2 separate regions of the Homo sapiens genome follow, and region 2 is linked to region 1. Evidence: promoter capture Hi-C in 16 types of primary human blood cells and fetal thymus (Javierre and others, 2016). All regions are on one chromosome and are shown on one strand. The core of a region is centred on a gene start or on the middle of the fragment in contact, and the rest is flanking DNA. Distances in the headings are between cores, read along the strand shown.

Evidence for each region. Contacts are between HindIII fragments. The CHiCAGO score rates a contact against its expected background, and 5 or more counts as called.
Region 2: a contact is called between the fragment with the promoter of CACFD1 here and a fragment that was not itself captured in region 1, in 1 of 17 cell types (total B cells). The highest score is 5.0, in total B cells.

The regions. Positions count from the first base shown.
Region 1 is chr9:133,033,076-133,038,167 of GRCh38, reverse strand. All of the region lies in intron 1 of GTF3C5 (general transcription factor IIIC subunit 5), which reads right to left. Among named protein-coding and RNA genes, the nearest start is that of GTF3C5, 4.6 kb to the right of the region's middle. The HindIII fragment of the contact is 198 bases long and covers 1,271-1,468 here.
Region 2 is chr9:133,458,017-133,463,272 of GRCh38, reverse strand. It overlaps CACFD1 (calcium channel flower domain containing 1), which reads right to left and starts at 3,295. Exons shown (of 5, transcript NM_017586.5): 1 at 3,086-3,295. The coding sequence starts at 3,206. ADAMTS13 (ADAM metallopeptidase with thrombospondin type 1 motif 13) reads right to left here. Exons shown (of 29, transcript NM_139027.6): 28 at 5,179-5,256; 29 at 3,887-4,299. The coding sequence ends at 4,093. RefSeq lists enhancers at 44-103, 281-837 and silencers at 2,780-3,079, 3,370-3,469, 3,480-3,699. The HindIII fragment of the contact is 16,509 bases long and covers 1,557-5,256 here.

The DNA.
Region 1 (5,092 bases), core at 120-2,619:
CAAAGTCTAACTTCCTTGTTCTTTGCGCCTCCTTGCCCTTAGTTACCCGCTCTGTAACTGCCCTTCCCGCCGAAACTATTCTTCCTGGCGAAACCGCTCATCCAGCCACTGTAACCCACATCCCTGTTCTATTTGAAATAGCCAATCGAGATCAGCTTAGATTGTGCGGTCCAACTCCAGCCAGTGGGACAAGACACAGGAACCTTTCCTCCTTTGTTCCGTGTGCTCTGGTGGCCAGAAGAGCGAGCAGCACAGCACCTTTCTTCTGCAGAACTAAATGTGCTAAGTTTACTTCTGCAGAAGGGTGCTGCTCGCTCTTCTGTTTGTTCCCTTCCGTCTAGCGTCAGCTGCTCCTCAGAAGAGCTTTTTGTTTCAGGGGTAAAGGGAGAAGGATTTAGAGCAAAAATCTTAGAAGACGCAGAGTTCAAACATAAAAATCGAACAGCCCACGTTAAATTTCTGCTAATCCCTGAAGCAGGAACTAACCCGTTAGGAAGAGACTTAAAGTTAGGTATAGGTTTACATGTTAGCCCAGAAGGATTCCTCACCTCATTAAACCTACTTACCACCATGAAGAAAAATACATTCATCCCGATCTCTGGTCAAGGGAAGGGAATTGGGGAAGACTCCAAGTCCCACCCCCCCACCATACATATAAAGTTAAAAACCCCGGGGGGAAATAGTAAGAAGGAAGCAATATCCCATCCCCTTAGAAGGCAGAATAGGCCTAAAACCTATCATTGAGAGTCTCATTAGGGACGGGCTCCTTGAACCCGGTGTGTCCCCTTATCCCAATACTGCCTGTAAGAAAGTCAGATGGGTCATACTGACTAGTGCAAGGCCTCTGGGCCATCAGCCAGATATTCCAGACTACTCACCCTGTTGTCCCTAATCCTTACACCCTCCTCAGCAAAATTCCATACGACCATCAGTGGTTTACAGTAATATATTTAAGATGCTTTTTGGGCATGCCCCTTGTCTGAGGACAGCCGAGACATTTTTGCTTGCGAATGGAAAGATCCCCATTCCGGACGGAAGCAACAGTATCGACGGACAGTTCTCCCCCAAGACTTCACAGACTCCTCTAACCTCTTCGGTCAGATTCTAGAACAAGTTCTAGAACAAATTTCTACCCCAAAACACATGCCTGCTCCAATACGTGGATGACCCGCTGGTATCTGGTGAAGCTACAGAACGGATAGCTGCCCTCTCCGTCCACCTCCTTAACCATTTGCAAGGAAAAGGGTTATGGGGTTTCAAAGGGAAAGCTTCAATCTGTAGAGCCAGAAGTTAAATACCTAGGACACTTGATACGAAGGACAGGAACTGAACACGTCGAAGGGATCGTGTCCTTCTTAACTTTGCCTAAAACTAAGCAGGAACTCGTAACATTCCTAGGATTGGTTGGATATTGCCGCTTACGGATTGACTCATATGCCCTAAAAACAAAATCTTTATACCTAAAGCTTGCCCAAGAAAAGCCTGACCCTCTTCTGTGGACCTCTGAAGAAATCCACCAGGTTGAAGAACTAAAACATATGCTCATAACTGCCCCGTCCTAGCCCTGCCTTCCCTAGAAAAGCCATCTCATCTTTTCATTAATGTAAAGAAGGGGGTAGCTTTAGGGGTACTTACTCAAGAACACGGGGGTCACTGGCAACCTGTGGTGTTCCTGTCGAAAGTTTTAGATCCAGTAACCTGTGGATGGCTTGAATGTATTCAATCCATTGCGGCTACGGCTTTGTTAACTGAAGAAAGCAGAAAGCTGACCTTTGGGGGAGATTTAGTTGTGAGCACGCCTCATCAAGTTAGAACTATCTTAAACCAGAAAGCAGGGAGATGGCTCACTGACTCAAAAATTTTAAAGTATGAAGCTATCCTATTAGAGAGATGATTTAACACTAACCACTGATAATTCACTTAACCCAGCAGGTCTCCTAACAGGGAATCCAAATCTAAAAGGACCTGAGCATGAGTGTTTAGATTCAGGCCCGATGTAAGGGAGACCCCTTTCAAACAGGGCAGCACTTATTTATAGATGGCTCTTCCCAGGTAACTGAAGGAAAAAGACATAATGGATATTCAGTAGTCTATGGGGAAGCCCTTGCAGAAGGAGGGTCAGGAAGGCTGCCCAGTCATTGGTCTGCCCAAACATGTGAATTGTTTGCAATGAATCAAGCCTTAAAGCACTTGCAAAACCAAGAAGGAACTATTTATTCTGATTCCAAGTACGCCTTCGGGCTAGCTCATACCTTTGGAAAAATTTGGACCGAACGAGGTCTCATTAATAGCAAAGGCCAAGACCTTGCCCACAAGGAATTAATCACCCAAGTGTTAGGTAACCTCCAGCTGCCAGAAGAAATAGCTACTGTCCATGTCCCAGGACACCAGAAAGGTCTTTCTTGTGAAAGTCGAGGTAATAACCTTGCAGATCAAATAGCCAAACAAGCTGCCATTTCCTCAAAACGCTCACTTTTCACCTAACCCCTTGTCTTCCTCCCCCGACCGCAGTTCCCATCTTCTCTTCCACTGAAAAAGGGAAATTAATAAAAATAGGGGCCAAAGAGAATTCTGAAGGGAAATGGGTGTTACCAGACCAAAGAGAAATGTTATCCAAACCCCTCAAGAGAGAAGTCTTATCTCAGCTGCATCAAGGAATTCACTGGGGACCCCAAGCCATGTGTGATGCAGTTCTCAGGGTTTAGGGATGTATAGGAATTTATACTCTGGAAAGACAAGTTACAGATAGTTGTCTAATATGCAAAAAGACTAATAAGCAGACCCTAAGAAAACCACTCCCTGGGGGAAAGGAGTCCAGGGTTAAGACCGTCCCAAAGTGTCCAAATTGATTACACCGAAATGCCCCCAGTCGGTTGCCTAAAGTACTTATTAGTGATAGTAGATCACCTTACGCACTGGAGGGAACCTATTCCCTTTTCAAGTGCAACTGCTAATAATGTAATTAAAGCATTGATTGAGAATATTATACCCAGGTTTAACAGATTAATACAAAATATTGATTCAGATAATGGGACTCATTTCACTGCACATGCCGTCAAGAAACTAGCCCAAGTACTAGACATAGCAGGGGAATACCACACTCCCTGGCACCCACCTTCATCAGGAAGAGTGGAGAGAATGAACCAAACTCTGAAGAGTCACTTAACCAAATTAGTCTTAGAGACTCGGTTGCCATGGACTAAATGCCTTCCCATTGCCTTGTGAAAAATCCGAACTGCCCCTTGGAAAGATGTTGGCTTATCCCCTTATGAAATGCTATATGGGTTGCCTTATCTACACTCCATTGCTGACATTGCTACGTTTGAAACAAAGATCAGTTTCTTAAAAACTATAAACTTGGTCTCTCCTCCACTTTTTCTTCCCTCAGGACTGAAGGCCTCTGAGCACAGACGCCAGCTCTAGAGTTTCCAGCACACCAGCATCAGCCTGGGGATCACGTTCTCATCAAAAGCTGGAAGGAGGGAAAACTTGAACCAGCTTGGGAAGGGCCTTATCTGGTACTCTTAACTACTGAAACAGCGATTCGAACGGCTGAAAAGGGATGGGCACACTACACGCCAGGTGAAAGGAGTAATGTCCACAGACAGGGAAAAATGGGCTGTCACCCCGGGACCCACCCCTACCAAACTAACCCTAAAAAGGGCTTAATAATCACTTGTCTATTTTTCCTTTTCTTTCCAACATAAGGTCATCTTGTCATCAATGTGACTCAGGCTAACCATCCCTTGACCCTTCAGTTCGACACTTGTTCTTACCCCGTGCAGATACGAACAAGCTCAAAGGCAGCTATCCGATGTAGTTAAGTATCCATGTCCATATCGCAGACAGTCAAACAAGTATAAGTATGGAGCCTTAAAGGGCCCCTGTGGTGACTGGGCAAATGTTTGGTGGACCAGTCAATATGGGAGGCGGACAGCCAACCCCCCTCCTTTAAATAAGTTGCGGAAACTCAAACAAAAACTCTAACTTATCCATCGCTCCACTCCACCAAATTGTAAGCCACTGCGGTGTAACCCCTTATTGCTAATTATAGATAATCCCCAAACAATGGCCCAAGAACCCTCTGTATTCGGACGGTACGGGTTAGGAGCAGATGTTACAGGACGGGATCCCATAGGAACCCTCTCTAAGGTTGACTGGACCATCGGCGGTTAAAAACAATGAAGAAACCCAGACCCAGAGTCCAGGGAACGTATGGGACCCAACGCTCTCCCCAAACATATCAGGCCCAGTGTTCCCCTCCGGTCTCCACAACGACCCAGCCAAAGTAGCAGCTGTAGAAGTAAGAGACCTAAAGCAAACTCTAGCAATTGAAACAGGGTACTGAGATGCAAACGCCTGGATGGAATGGATTAAATATTCTGTCCGCACTTTAAACAAAAGTGATTGTTACACTTGTGCACACAGTAGACCAGAAGCCCAGACTGTCCCCTTTCCACTTGGATGGTCCTCCAGACGAGTGGGCATGGGCTGTACGGTAGCTCTTTTCCAGGACCCCACAGCCTGGGGTGATAAATCGTGCCGAGCTCTCTCTCTGCTGTTCCCTGAGGTTCAACACCCTGCGGGTCAGCCCCTGAGGGCTATCCAGCTTCTGTCTCCCAGTGCCAATTTTACTTTGTGTCTCTTGTGACAGGGAAAATTTGGCATTCCTTGGGGACCTAACAGGATGCAGTGAGCTTAAGCCCTTCCAAGAGCTTACCCATGAATCTGCCCCTAGTCATTTATCCTGAGCAGATGTATGGTGGCATTGTGGTGGACCGTAACTGGATACTCTGCCAAGTAACTGGAGCGGTACCTGTGCTCTGATCCAATTGGCCATCCCTTTCACTCTGGCATTTCATCAACCAGAAGAAGTAAAAACAAGACACCGTAGAGTAAGAGATGCCCCCCGTGGTTCCTTTGACCCTCGTGTTTATACAGATGCCACTGGAGTTCCCCGAGGGGTACCTGATGAATTTAAGGCTTGTAATCAAATAGCTGCGGGATTTGAGTCTATGTTTTTCTGGTGGTTAACTATAAATAAAAATGTAGATTGGATAAGTTACATCTATTACAACCAGCAACAATTTGT
Region 2 (5,256 bases), core at 2,046-4,545, 420 kb before region 1:
AAGGTGGCAGCAAGGTGGCAGGTGGATCTCACAGCATCCTCTCCCCGTTTCAGGGCTCAGAGGAGCTGGCCCTCTGACCCCAGCTACATCAATATCCACCTCAAAGGGAGGTTAGGATTAAAGAAGGATTAAAGAGTGAATGTCCCTCAAGGATTCAGGCCAGTGCTCCCCCAAGACTCAGCCTTCGGTAAGGGTCACTTGCCACCATTCACAGGGCCGGCCACACAAGAAGTCCTCTGACTCAGAAAATGTGGCTTGGATTTTGGTTGGGACAAGGGGTGCCTCTCTCAGAACAGAGATGGGAACCAGGTAAGACTGAGCAGCAGTTCCAGCTCTAACTTCCTCACCAGCCCTGTGCCACTGGCACGCTATCTTCATCTTCCTAGACCCGTTTCTCCTCTTGCACATGAGCAAGTCCCACAGCCCAGCCACCCACCGCTGAAATGCCATAAGGCCAGGAAGGGGAGGGGGCATCGTTTTCCACCCCAGAACGTGGCTTCTCTGATGCTCAGATGTGCAGCCTTGACGCCCCGCCTCCCAGCTGCACCTCACCAGCAGGGTCTCTTGCACCCAACTCCCTCCTCCACCCACAGCCTGCAGCCTGGCTTCACCAGGAACTCCAGGAGCCTTCAAGGCAGGTCCAAGGAGGTGGCTGCTGGGCAGGGAGCAAGCCCAGGCCATCACTGAGGGGGGCCTTGGAGGCAGCAATTAGCACCCAGCTCATTAAACTTGCAGCAGCTCCTCTGCACCTGATCCCTCCACCTGGGTCTGGAATTCTGCTGTTTTCCATTTTCCCAGGTAACCTTATGCAGACAGCAGGCAAAGAAGCCAGATAAAGTGAGCCGAACTGCAATGGGACTGCTTCATGGGCCCCCAGGGTCTCCTTCTAAAACAAAGGACTCAAGCGTTGCACTGCTCCTCAGCACAGCCTTAGACATCTGCCTTCAGACAGCAAGGTGTTCCAGAACCACAGGTACACAGGGGCCTGCCTGTCCTAGCAGAGTGCCCAAAGGGTGACACGGCTCCCTGCCTCTCTGCTGTGCCTGGCCTCACCTGACAGCTCGGCTGTGCTTCCTGCTGCAGTCAGCATTTGGCCTCCAGCTCCAACCCTACCCCAGCTGTCCAACCCACAGCCAGCCTTGGGGGAGGACCAGGTGTCAAGCCAGACCAGCAGGCTCCAGCCAGGAATCCTTTAGCAATAAAGGGCTGGAGGATGTCCACTTGGGGGCCTCAATGCTGATATCTTCCACGTGAGGGGGCTGTCACCATGCAATCCTGTCCCCTCCCAAGGTATCACCTCCAGATGCTCTTAGGACCCAGGGTAGACCCTCTCCAGGTACTCTCTCTGATCCCCTCACCCTGGAGGAGGAAAACCTTACCCAAGGACCAGCCCGGCACACAACCCTTGTCTGAACTCCTGCCGCATCTCTAAAACACCCTGCATTTTTGCATTCTACCCTGTAATACAGCATTTTGATGTTCACATAACCATGCCCCCAAAAATCTGCAGATGCAACTGACAACTCAGGGCAATGCCACAAGTTTCTCCTGAAGCTTCATCTGTAGACCCAACAGAGCCCCAGGAACTCCCAGGAAAGGCAGAGGTACCTCACTTTGAGAGGCACAGAACTGAGTAAGACTCCACAGCAAATCTGGGAGTCGGCAGGGCCACTGACCAAGAAGGAAGGAGGTGTGGCCTACAGGCCATAGTCAGGACCTTTCCTTTCTCACCACTGACCATGTCACCCCACTGCACTGCCCACCCTAATCTGCAGGGAAAACAGCTAACCAGACATGACAGGACTGGATCCAATGCCTAACTTCAAACCCACCAGTCTCTCCTACAAAGTCAAAAGCGTACTTGCCCTGAAGAGCAGTGACACAAACTCGGGGCCTTTTTGTGATTTGGGGGTAGGGCCTGCCCTACCGTATCCGTTGCCTCTGGATAAGGGCATGCCTAGCGAGGGCAGCACACTCCTAGCCCAGCACCCTCCTGCCTCAACCTCCCTCCACCCTCTACCCACCTGGAAAGGCTGTGGAACCCAAGGTGACCCTGAAAAGGTGGTCCTTCTGGCAGGATTGCTGATGGGGCCTGCCCTGCCCAGGCCCAGAGCTAGCCCTCTCTGCCAGGCAGGCACTGTTTAAAACCTGCAGACATCCTCGACAGACATTCTCTAAGACCTTGCCCACTCCAGTAATCCACAAGATTGAGGGCAGACAGGAAAGGAAAGGGTATCACTCAGACAGACTTGTCTTTCCCTGGAAGGCCAGCTGTACGGCTTCCATTCACTCCTGGAGCTGACCTGCCTCCCTCTTTGTCCTTTTCTGGCTGTGCTTAAGAGCCTAGCTTCCCTGGCAGCCTAAGGTCAGGGTCTGTGACTGGGATGCGTGCGGAGAAGGGGAGGAAGGCCGGTGACAGGCGGCTAAGGCAGCAGCAACGGGGGAGATATGAGAGCGGACAGAGGACCCAGGGAGAGGCCGGGCCCTCAGCTCACTGCCCCGCGGCCCCAGGGGCCACCTGTGCCCTGACACCACCTGACCCTCAGCAAACTTCCGCCCAGTGGCTTCCTGCCAGAAATCTAGCCAGCCGTGCACCCGCCTCCCTTACAAACAATCCTTGCCCAAAGGTTAGCAATGTGGCTGCCGTCACCTACGCCCAAGTCAACAGTTGACGCTTTAGTACGGGCCAGGTGGGCATGCGCCCCGTGAGCATCACCGAGAAAGTCTCACAAAAGCCCCTGGGGAGCGGGGGGAGGGCTCAGTCACGTGCCCCAGGCCGGTGCCCCACCCCCGCCCCCGCCGCCCCCCCGCCCTGGGGTTTCTGGTCCCTCCGGGAATGTTCCCAGAAGCGCCAGCCCAGCCCAGCCCGGGGTACCAAGGCGCCCAGGCCCGAGCGGGTAACCATGGCAACCCCAGGACGCCGGCTCCCGGCGGCCCCGCCATTCCTCCGCCCCGGGAGGCGCCCGGCAGACCCCCGACCCCCAGCGGGTCCTTTCCCCTGGGGCCGCCGGGGCGGGGCGGGGCAGGGCAGGGCGAGGAGCGCATGCGCGGCGGGGCCGGCCCCTCTCCCCGACTGGATACTCACAGACTGCCCCCAGCACCCCAGACAGGCGACACAGCCAGCGGTACCACCACGTCATGCCCTCTTCCTGCGCGGGCGGCGCAGAGCTGGCGGACGCCCCGGGCGCCCCACCTGAGCTGCTCATGGTGCCACCGTCAGGCGCAGCTCACAGCCCTCACAAAGGGCTCGGTAGCCGGCCGCGTCCGAGCCGGCGCGCTGCCTTGTGGGAGAGGGAGCATATTAGCATAGGGGGCGGGGCTTTCAGGCTGCGGCGAGGCGCGCCCGAAGGGAGGCGGGTGCTCATTAACATAGTGAGCGGGACCCTCATGCCGCGACTAGGGGCGTTTGAGGGGAGGTAGGTGCTCATTATTGTAGGGGGCGGGACCCGCAGGCTGCGGCGAGGAGCTGGGGGTGGGGAGCTCGTTAGCATACGGGGCGGGGCTCGCAGGCATCGGAGAGGTGTGCCCGAGGGGGGCGGGCGTCATTAGCGTAGGGGGCGGGGGCTCGCAGTTTGCGGCGACTTGCTCCCAAAGGAGGCGGGCGCTTATTAGCATAGGGGGCGGGGCCTGGAGGCGCGCAGACACCTTAGCGGTCAGAGCCTCACACCAGGACACACGGGTGGGGCTTCGCAGGGAGCTGGCTAATGCGCCATCCTCGGAGTGGAATCCTGATTGGATTTTCTTCCTGGATAGGAAGAAGATAACTAGGGACGTCCAGCGGCTTGCTCAGATCAAGATAGAGCCAACCGCGGCCAGCGAATCCCTGCCTTGCCATGGGATGGGTTTTCAAGCCAGGTCTGGACAGCTTATAAGAAAAAAACGCCGGTCAGCCTGCATGTTTTATTTATTGGTACCCGAGGAAATGGGGGCTGCTTTTCCAGAGTCCCCACCTCCAACCCCCTAGCCTTTTGGACATTGGAGAAGACTCTAAAGTAGATACCTAAGATTGGAAAAAGTTCGAATTGGAAAGCACTGAGACCAGGGGTCAACCCTCCAGGGCTGGCCAGACACGGAACAAATGTTCAATGACCCTCAGGTTCCTTCCTTTCCCTTCCAGGACTGAGGGTCCTGCATCTCCGGTACCCATGATTGGAGGGTCCAGTACTGGCCCCGCAGGCTGGCCTGAGCCTTCAGGAAGCCCTCGCTGAACTCCATCTCAGCCTGGCTGCTCTCTGACTCCCAGTAGAGCACCTGCTGCCCATGGAACGCTGTGGTCCTCAAGCTGTGGGTGTCCCGGATCTGAGAGAAAAGGGGCAGCCCAGAAGGACCGGCCACAAGTAATAATTAGCACTCACGGAAGCCTTCGTGTGCAAGGGCTCACAGATTCCGGATCACATTTAATGCTTACAAAGCCCTACTAGGAATACGCCATTACTCTACCCAGAAAACCGAGGTCCAGGGACGTTACATCACTTCCCCAAGGACACACAGTCAGGGTGCCAGAGCGGGGCCAGGCTGCCTCCTCTGGGGAAGCTGATACCCTGCAGAACACAGTTCTCCCAGGACACTTGAAACCTCGGGGAGGGTGCAGGGTGCTATTCTGTCCAAGTTATATCAGACTGTAAAATTATGCTTCAGTCTTGGGTTAGCTGTCAGTCTACATCAGAAAGGTCTTTACCATTCTTTACCATTTCGCTTTTTTTTTTTTTTTTTTTTTGAGACAGAGTCTCACTCTGTTGCCCAGGCTGGAGTGCAGTGGTGCGATCTGGGCTTAGTGCAACCTCCACCTCCCGGGTTCAAGTGATTCTTGTGCCTCAGCCTCCCAAGTAGCTGGGATTACAGGCACACGCCACCATGCCTGGCTACTTTTTCTATTTTTAGTAGAGACAAGGTTTCATCATGTTGGCCAGGCTGGTCTCGAACTCCTGACCTTGAGTGATCTGCCCTCCTGGGCCTCCCAAAGTGCTGGGATTACAGTTGTGAGCCACTATTTCACTCTTGTAGGTAGCTCAAAAAACATTTCTTGGTGAATATGTGGAGGAAGCTATCTTCTCCCATTCTTTCACTAATGATTTTGAGGGTTTTAGTCTGAAATAAACTGAAGGGGGTCCCCTAGCCCTGCACGCCCTAGGGAAAGCTGTCCAGAATCACAGCACAAGTCCCCATGCTGGGCCTCACCAAGATGTAGCTGGCATTGGCTCCCTCGGTCCCAGCGCCCATGTTGGTGGCCAGGGCATGGATGGCAATCCGTGCGTG